Regions from separate parts of the Homo sapiens genome. Here all the other regions are linked to region 3. The links are contacts of gene promoters, found by promoter capture Hi-C in blood cells and fetal thymus (Javierre and others, 2016). All regions are on one chromosome and are shown on one strand. The core of a region is centred on a gene start or on the middle of the fragment in contact, and the rest is flanking DNA. Distances in the headings are between cores, read along the strand shown. Region 1 overlaps ZNF569 (zinc finger protein 569). Region 2 overlaps ZNF585B (zinc finger protein 585B). Region 3 holds the start of ZNF223 (zinc finger protein 223).

Evidence for each region. Contacts are between HindIII fragments. The CHiCAGO score rates a contact against its expected background, and 5 or more counts as called.
Region 1: a contact is called between a fragment that was not itself captured here and the fragment with the promoter of ZNF223 in region 3, in 1 of 17 cell types (total CD4 T cells). The highest score is 5.4, in total CD4 T cells.
Region 2: a contact is called between a fragment that was not itself captured here and the fragment with the promoter of ZNF223 in region 3, in 1 of 17 cell types (total CD4 T cells). The highest score is 5.5, in total CD4 T cells.

The regions. Positions count from the first base shown.
Region 1 is chr19:37,454,521-37,457,725 of GRCh38, reverse strand. All of the region lies in intron 2 of ZNF569 (zinc finger protein 569), which reads left to right. Among named protein-coding and RNA genes, the nearest start is that of ZNF569, 11 kb to the left of the region's middle. The HindIII fragment of the contact is 609 bases long and covers 1,159-1,767 here.
Region 2 is chr19:37,179,746-37,182,867 of GRCh38, reverse strand. ZNF585B (zinc finger protein 585B) reads left to right here. Exons shown (of 5, transcript NM_152279.4): 5 at 1-1,289. Among named protein-coding and RNA genes, the nearest start is that of ZNF585A, 8.6 kb to the right of the region's middle. The HindIII fragment of the contact is 2,530 bases long and covers 391-2,920 here.
Region 3 is chr19:44,050,364-44,053,565 of GRCh38, reverse strand. It overlaps ZNF223 (zinc finger protein 223), which reads right to left and starts at 1,530. Exons shown (of 5, transcript NM_013361.6): 1 at 1,371-1,530. RefSeq lists enhancers at 1,304-1,543, 1,363-1,864 and a silencer at 1,584-1,643. The HindIII fragment of the contact is 18,414 bases long and covers 1-3,202 here.

The DNA.
Region 1 (3,205 bases), core at 214-2,713, 6.6 Mb after region 3:
TATCTCCTAATGCTATCCCTCCCCCCTCCCCCAACCCCATGACAGGCCCCAGTGTGTGATGTTCCCCATCCTGTGTCCAAGTGTTCTCATTGTTCAGTTCCCATCCATGAGTGAGAACATGTGGTGTTTGGTTTTCTGTCCTTGCGATAGTTTGCTCAGAATGATGGTTTCCAGCTTCATCCATGTCCCTACAAAGGACATGAACTTATCCTTTTTATGGTTGCATAGTATTCCATGGTTATTTTGTTTATTCTTAAACATTATATACCAATTCCACATTCCATCACTCTCTTTTTCTTTCATATTTCCACATACCTCAGTTTCTCTGTTACCATAAGCCAGTAAATTTTGGGCAAGGGGAAAAAAAGAAGTTTAAACAGGGGAGTGTTACTTAAGATGCATTTTATAAGTATAGAATTCTCGATTAAATCCTCAATTTATTTTAAAATTGGTTTTAAAGGATATTGTTGCGACAACTAGGGAAGTATAGAGATAATATATTTTATTGTACGAATGTTTAATATCTTTGGTGTGATAATGGCATTGTGTTTATGTAGGAGGCTTCTTAGTTTTTGGAGGTACATTCTGAAAGAGTTAACGTGAAGTTTGTGTATATGTTTTTAGAGAAGGAAAGAGAGGTAGAAAAATGTGGCAATGCTGAATATAGATTAAGGGTTTTAGAAGTATTCTTTGTACTGATCTTCCAACATTTTTGTAGTTTGAGTTTTGTGTTTTTTGTTTTTTGTTTTTTTTTTTTTGAGACGGTGTCTCCCTCTGTTGCCCAGGCTGGAGTGCAATGGCGCGATCTAGACTCACTGCAACCTCCGCCTCCTGGGTTCAAGCGATTCTCCTGCCTCAGCCTCCTGAGTAGCTAGGATTACAGGCGCCTGCCACCATGCCCAGCTAATTTTTTGTATTTTTAGGAGAGGTGAGGTTTCACTATGTTGGCGAGGCCAATCTCGAACTCCTGACCTTGTGATCCGCCCACCTCAGCCTCCCAAAGTGCTGGGATTACAGGTGTGAGCCACTGTGCCTGGCCTCGAGTTTTTAAAAGTAATAAATTTTGGAAGAAAATTTCTAGAATGTATACATACAAGTATGTTTAGAGTGAACTAGAGGGAAGGAAAGTAGGAGGCAGTTAAACTGTTTTATGAAGCTTCAACTCCCTGTCTAAAGAAAAAGTTTTCTTAATGGAGAGCTCTGTGACTTAATGTTTAACTAACATAAGTGGGAGCTTCCTTCTCAAACATACGGGCCCTAAGAGAGAAGTAGAAATGTTAAGAGATAAAATATAAGACACTTAGATGATCAGTTTAAGGGATAGATCATCCTATTCTTAGGAATTATACGTAAGAGAAAGTAGAGAAAATGAAAACAAAAACGTGCAAGAAAATTTCCTAGAAGAGAACAATAAATATACGGATTGAAATGACCGTATGTCCGTGATATATACTGACCAAAAGCTCAGTGCGATTAATGAGAAAAACCCACACCAACTATCGGAAACCAATAAGAGAGAAGAAAGGCCAAAAACTTTCTACAGAGGAAAAAAAAAGTTGGAATGATCTAGAAGTAGAATGTCAATGTACAGCAACACTAGAAGTCACTGGAGCCACAAAGTGAAGTCACATTGCTTTAAATTTCTAAGGAAAAACTGTTTTTCTGAGAAGCCTACAGTTAGCCAAATTATTATTTGAGTATGAGAGTAGAATAAAAATGTTTTCAAACATGCCAACCAAATTAAAGAGAAAACAAAGTAAAGAAGCTTTTGAGAAATTAAATTTTTGATTCCTGTAGTTGCAACTGGCTTTGGCAACTTTAGATCCCAGATAGAGCGGTACCCACAGAGTTTAATGCTGTTCTTCCAGCCATCAGTGGGTGCCCTTATATAAGTGGGTCCAGCCCTTATATCCTTCTTTCATGTGTCATTGGCCCTTTTCCCTTGTGATTTAAACATGTGTTGCAAAGTGGTGTGGTAGGACCTGGAATCCGGGGACACATGGAAATAGTGGAGAGAAGACTAGGAAAGAGTTGGGGGTGGGGGAGAAAATACTGTTGTCCACCACAGAGCCATATCCCCAGTCTGTGAGTTAGTTCACGCTAACTAGAGAATTTCTGCCTTGAGAGATGCTGCCAGGTGTAGAGCTTTCAATGAGTTTTAGGTTTTTGGCAAAACGTGGATTCAAGCAAGTGGAGTGTTAAAAAATATATATTATTATGTAGATATGGCAGTTGCTGTAAGCATTTTAACTGTATCAGAGCTCATTTCAGGAGGGAATCATGCATGATAGTCCAGAAACTAAACAAATTGATATGGCTGGAAGTAAGTTCTTTGCAGTGGAAAGAAAAATAACATTTGTTATGAATATAACATTTAGTTTGTGAATTTATTTCTAAAGTATTTCCTCAATTAGCTTAAAGTTGAGTTCCTCCAGTATACTGAATTCCGTCTTTTCTGAGGCCTTACCAATTGCTACTGCTTTGCTTGTAATGCTTTCCCACTCCCACTCCATCCTAGCTAATTTACTTGACTTTAAACTGTTATCCTAATCCTAACTTTATTTGCAAGGTATTTTTGAGCCCCATGACAAAATAAACTGAAGGACTTCTCAAAAGTTTATTGTAATGAGGGGACTTTGGGTTTCTCCTTAGGGATGTAAACAGCTGGAAAGAACTTTGCTTCAATCATTACAACAAGGAAACTACAAACTTCTACCGTACAACAAGGAAATGGACAAACTACAAAATAATTTTTCTAGGACCCTTCAGAGAACTGAGGTCACAGGGCAACCAAGTAATCTTAAATCTGGGGAAAGAAAGATGCCAGCTGAGAGAAACAGGACTCAAGCTTTACTTACCTGGGATGGACTCTGCCAGACACCATATAAGCCAGTAAGAAAATACAGCTATCAAGTTTTTAAACAAATTTTTAAAGTGTGAATGTCAGCTAATGAAAGTGTGAAACCACTGGGGGACTTGCAAAATTAGGGAGGTGGGGGTTGCAGTCTCTTGTAGGCTTTTCCTCTGGGAATCCCAACAGGCACTCATAGGGAAGATGGGAGTGAATCCTGAGAAGCCTTTCCTTGTGGTGTTAGCTGGGGGAGGGCAACAGCAGCCCAAACCCATCTTCCCTATCACTGCATAATGAAGAGCAGCAAAAACAGTTGCCTTAGGAGACTTGTAGAAAGCTATTGCAGTTTAGGAA
Region 2 (3,122 bases), core at 406-2,905, 6.9 Mb after region 3:
ACAGATGATCTGATTAGATGCACAGTTGCTGGGTGGCGTCTGGGGCCAGTCTATTGGCAGTTCTGGGAGTGGGAACTATTTGGGCTCTGCAAAGATGGTTTCACCTTTAAGAAGGGCAGTATGGGGAGGTGAAGATGGGGCCCAAAGGATAGAACATAGTCAAAGAAGCAGGGCCACAATGCCCCTTTAATTCCCAAGCCCTAGTTGGGCAGTGCTTGGTGACACATCCCATTACCTCACCTTAGATCAATGTCTACTGAGCCATCATTAGCTCTGCTTCCTCACTTCTTCACAGTATCTGATGGCCCATCACATGCTGCTCAACATCTTAGACCAATGTCTGCTCACCCATTACCTCCCTTCACCTCATCCAGCACTGTATCTGAAGCTTCACTATTCTTCCTTCAGTTTTGGATATTTTGTGATACAACATTATCCCCAACTTAGGACAATGTCAGCTGACTCTCAGGAGGGTGCCTGGAGATCACCTCTTCCTTCCTAACATACCCTAGAACAAGGTCTGGTCCCCTTCATTATTCCCATTTTACCTTACTCCTAAGTGTATCACTCCTCATGAATTCCAGGAAATATGGAGGAAAACACATTTCACTGTACATGACTTTCAATAATTTCTCCTTTATATTTATTGTAACGTGATATTTTAGTGCTGACATATATATGTATATGTATGCCCATTTATATAAAAGACTAGTTTTTAGAGAAATTTTAGGTTCACAGCAAAATGGGGCAGAAGGTACAGAGATTTCCCATATATCCCCTACCCTCACATATACACAGCCTCCCCCATCATCAACATCCCCCTTCAGAGTGGTACATTTGTTACAATTGATGAAACTACATTGACACTATCGGCCAAAGTCCATGGTTTAATTAGGGTTCAGTCTTGATGTGCATTCTGTGGGTTGAGACAAATGAATAATGACATGTATGCATTATTACAGAAGGATAAAGAGCCGTTTCACTGTCCCAATAATCCTCTGTGTTTCGCCTACTCCTCTAAACTCCTGGCTATTTTCTTTTGTCTCCATAATTTTGCCTCTGAACCATAAAGTATGCAGCCTTTTCAGATTGATTTGTTTCACTTAGTAATGTGGATTTAAGTTTCTTCCATGTCTTTTCGTAGCTTGCTAGCTCTTTTTTTTTTTTTTTTCTCATTGAATAATATGCTATTGTCTGGAAGTACCATGACTTATTTATCCATTCACCTACTGAAGGACACCTTAATTGCTTCCAAGTTTTGTTGATTATGAATAAAGATGCTATAAACACCTGTGTGCAGGTTTTTGTGTGAACATGACTGTAATATTTTAAGGTCGTATTTATTGAGGTATAATTTACATACAGTAATATTCACCCTTTTTAGTGTGGAATTCTCAAAGTTTTGACAATTACATCATGCAGTCAATACCACAGTCAAGACAGAGAACAGTTCCCTCACTTCCCTACATTTCCTCCTATTACTTTTTAGTCCATCCCTTTGCCCACCCCCAGGCCTTGATGATCACAAGCCCATTTTCTGTCTGTATAATTTTGCCTTTTCCACATGTTGTATAAATGGAGACATCCTGTGTGTGTCTCTGTCTGTTTATATATGTGTATGTATCTCTCTTTTTGAGTCGGACTTGTTTCATTTAATGTGATGTATTTGCGATCTATCCATATTGTTATATGAGATAAAAATGGAAAATAAGGTGATGAAAAGATGCTCGACATCTTTAATTTTCAAGAAAATGAAAATGAAAACCACAATGAGATACCTGTACACACCTTTTAGCATGCCTAAAAATAAAGACATAATGCTGAGAGTTGGCAACAATGCAGAGCAATGGAAACTTTCATGCATTGTTGGTAGAAATGTAAAATGTTACATTCACTTTGGGCAAAAAGTTTGGCAGCTTTTTTTTTTTTTTTTGAGATGAAGTTTTGCTCTTATTGCTCAGGCTGAAGTGCAATGGCATGATCTCGGCTCCCCACAACCTCCACCTCCCAGGTTCAAGCGTTTCTCGTGCATCAGCCGCCCAAGTAGCTGGGATTACAGGCATGCACCACCACGCCTGGCTAATTTTATATGTTTTTAGTAGAGGTTTAGTTAAGGGTCTCTCCATGTTGGTCAGGCTGGTCTCGAACTCCTGGTCTCAGGTGATCTGCCCGCCTCAGCCTCCCAAAATGCTGGGATTACAGGCGTGAGCCACCATGCCCAGCCTTGACAGCTTCTTATACTGTTAAACATACACTTATCATATGACCCACCAATCCCTCTCCTAGGTATTTGCCCTAGATAAGTGAAAAATTGTTTATATAAAAACACGGGTACTCAAATTTCACAGCAACTGTATAATTGCCAAAATTAGGAAACAACCCAAATGTAACAGTGGGTGACTAATTAAACAGTGGGTGACTAATTAAACATCTATACAATAGAATACTACCCCAACATGAAAAGAAGTGATTTATTGACACTGGCTGCAACATGGATGAATCTCAGAAGTACTCTTTTATTTTACTATGTGATAGTTTAAATGACATTTGAAAAATTATTAGATACTAGATTATAAATATAGATTTATGTATTTTATTTTATGTGTGCATATCATACACTGTATATTGTGTTGACAGTATGTTATAGCACATTATGATATTATACCTACTACAAAATAGTTTCCATTTTATATAATATATAGTATCGTATGATTATATAATTTTTATATTTTATATATCAAACTTTCATGTAACATTTTAGTTATTTCTACTTTTACATAATCACATTTAATGTTTATAGTATAAAGTTATAACTATAATAACGGGTCATAGGGTTCAGACAGCCTGCAGTTGGAGGTGGTCAATATTTTTATTGTTTGTCAAGAATCCCAATTCTGGCTGATTTAGCACCAAGGAAGCTTTCTCCAGCTTTGGGCTTTTGCACCAACTGTGTTCTCTGGGCATACACTGCTTCCCCAGTGCCCATGCATCTTGCTTTCTTCCCCCATCTTTGAAAAGCATCCACCCCACCATTTGTATCTGAAGTAACACATCCATTGGGGTCACTTTCTGCTGTATTATTTTGTATATATTTGTGTTGCAGGCATCACCATCTGATTTGA
Region 3 (3,202 bases), core at 281-2,780:
AAACCCAATCGTACATTCTATTTACTGAGATAGGAGAAAACCGCCTTATGGCTGGAGGTGAGACATACTGGCGGCAATACTGGTCTTTACTGCACTGAGATGTTTGTGTAAAGTCACACATAAATCTGGCCTATGTGCACATCCAGGCACAACTCCTTTCCTTAAACTTATTTATGACAGAGTCCTTTGCTCACATGTTTTCCGGCTGACCCTCTCCCCACCATTACCCTATAGTCCTTCCACATCCCCCTCACCAAGATAGTAGAGATAGTGATCAATAAATACTGAGGGAACTCAGAGACCAGTGCCGGTACAGGTCCTCATTTGCTGAGCGCCGGTCCCCTGGGCCCACTTTTCTTCCTCTATACTTTGTGTCTGTGTCTTATTTCTTTTCTCAGTTTCTCATTTCCACCTTGTGAGAAACACCCACAGGTGTGGAGAGGCAGGCCCCCTTCAATATCAAACTCCAAATGAACAACTATGGAAATGTGACAGCTAAAGACAACGCATAAACTGGACTTTGAATAGGTGAAGGGTGGGGCAGAGGACAGTCATAAGGACTTTAAATGAAAAATTTAACAAATTCGTATATGGAACTGCAGATTAGATAACATGATGCTAGGTAATATGCTATCCAACACTATCTAGTAAGTACACTACAAATACTAGTATTCTTTTAACACATCTATCTGACATGTAATCGGTAACAGTATTATTTAACATAATATCCAATATTATCTACCATGTTATGTGAAACCCTATAACCAGCCCTTCCTAAATGCCTCTTACCAAGACACCCCACAATTACCGTGGTATGTGGGCTTCCTTGCTGCAGAAAGCTACCAATCAGCTGTCTCTGGTTACAGGTATGTTCCTGGTGGTATTTGGTTGATGGTCATCAACAAAGCAAACAGGAAAAATGTAAACACTTGGCAAATTTGGGTAAAGGGTATATGAGAATTTCTTATACTGTTTTTGCAATTTTTCTATAGCTTTGAAATGATATCAAACGTTTTAAAATATCAGGCAACAAGAGACCACTCACCAAGTGACAGGGACAACTTTAAGGCTTTCATTTGTATTATCTCTTTCAATTCGCAAAACAATTCTATTAGGATGACCCTATAAGCACCATTTTAAAGAACAGCAATGGGAAGTACAGAGACATTAACATTCCACATCACACTGCGAGAAAGAGTGTACACACTGCATACGTAGGGAGGCGGACTGAGCGAGGTCAAAGTCCTGGAAACCCTCAGAGCAGGGCACACAAGGCCACCCCAATCCCACCCCCCGGGAGGCGAGCAAAGCCCCCCGACGCCAGAAGGCTCCGCTGACGGGAACAATAAACACCCTCCCCGCCCTCGCACCTCTAAACCTCTGCTCTTCGCCAAGGCTTCTTTTCCCCTGAGACGATCATCGATCATCGGGTGGTTGCGAGCCTCAAGCAAAGGGGGTTCGTTCAAAATGTCCTGCAAGACGCAGAAATGGCTCAAACTACCCCGGTCATTAAAGCAGGAACCTCAGACTAGGAGACCGGAAGTGTCCTCTCTGCGCCAGAGTGTCTGGACTCCACTCCCCAGAATTCCCCGGACCCGCCCCCCTGAGCCAAAGGGCCCGGGACTCCGCAGAGTGTCTGGACTATCGTTCCCAGAATTCAACGGTTCACCTGCCAGAGCCAAAATACCCAGTGTTCCACGAGCCAGTGGACTACACTTCCCGTAAAATGGACTACTCTTCCCAGAATTCTCCGGAAACGCCTACCTGAGCTGAAGTATCAGGAATCCCGCAAGGTGTCTGGACTGCAGAGCCTCAGATGCAAAAGGAAAATGTCCATCACCTCACCCTTTAGGCTCAAGTGTTGCGACTACATGGTGCTCCTCGATTACACTTCCCGCAACACCCACGGGGAACGAATTTCATAGCCCCAGGTTCCTGGTGGGGAATGCAGACTGTTACCCTGACAGTTGTCCTTCCCAGAGTCCTCGAGCGAAAATATTGAATAGAAAGAATTTATGAAGTCTAAATGTCTCCCATGATTGACAGGAGTGTTCTTGGACAGGGAACAAGCGAGGAGATACAATATTCAAGGAGCTAGATAGAGTGACTGTTGAGCCGTCAGATGGCTGAAAGGAGGCTCAGGGTTTAAAGCAAGGATATCCAACTCCAGGGCCACAGACCTGTACCGGTCCACTGACTGTTAGGAACCGGGCGGCACAGCAGGAAGTGAGCGGCAGGTGAGGGAGCATTATGGCCTGAGCTCCACCTCCTGTGAGATCAGCCCAGCATTACATTCTCATAGGAGCGCGGATCCTATTGTGAACTGTGCGTGCGAAGGATCTAGGTCAGGCGCTCCTTATGAGAATCTAATGGCTGAGGTGGAACAGTTTCATCCCGAAACCATTCCCCAGTCCGTGGAAAAATTGTCTTCCACAAAACCGGTCCATGGTGCTAAAACGGTTGGGGACCACTGGTTTAAAGAATGAGCCAGGTAGAATGGGTTGGGAGGGGCAATGAGAAGCCAGGAAAGCATCAGCCCCTGTAACTGAAAAGTAGATCAGTGGCTTCCCGTTTGCAACGTCCAGTTAACAAGAGGGAGATCTGGTATAAAGAAAGTGATTTATTCTAGAGCTAGCGTAGGGGAAGTAGCACAGGTGTTGTCTTTAAGTGCACGGCTTGGCTTTTAGAGCAGAAAGCAGGCACTTTTAAAAGGTAGGGGAGGAAGAGGGAAGGGGTCTGTGTGCTGGCTTGGTGCCTTATCTATTAGGCAGTTGAGCTGGCTTTTTCATGGGCAGAAATAAGTTGTAACCAGAAGGGAGAGAGTAGCAGGCACGCTTTCAACTGTTGTCTCTTCAGGCAACCTCCTGGTGAGTGAGAGTTCAGAGGCCAGCATGCTTTAGTTTGTAAATTGACTGTTAATTCTGGAGGAGAGTTCTGGCTTGGAGCACACAGTTAGATGAACTTTCCCTGTAGGAAGTGTCTGGTGAAGGGGAGGTAAAAGTCTATATTTGCATTTTTAAAGGGCTACATAGGAAGTGGGGAACTAAGGGAATGAGAAAAGAGAGAGAAATAAATAAGCTGTCTCTTAGAAAAATGGTGGTTCTCAGTTACAGCCCTAGTCCAGATGCTGTGGTACCACTGGTTTGACAGGAAAAACAAAATTCCAGCCACCAATGGAGAAGCTGTGTCCTCATGGAAAAGC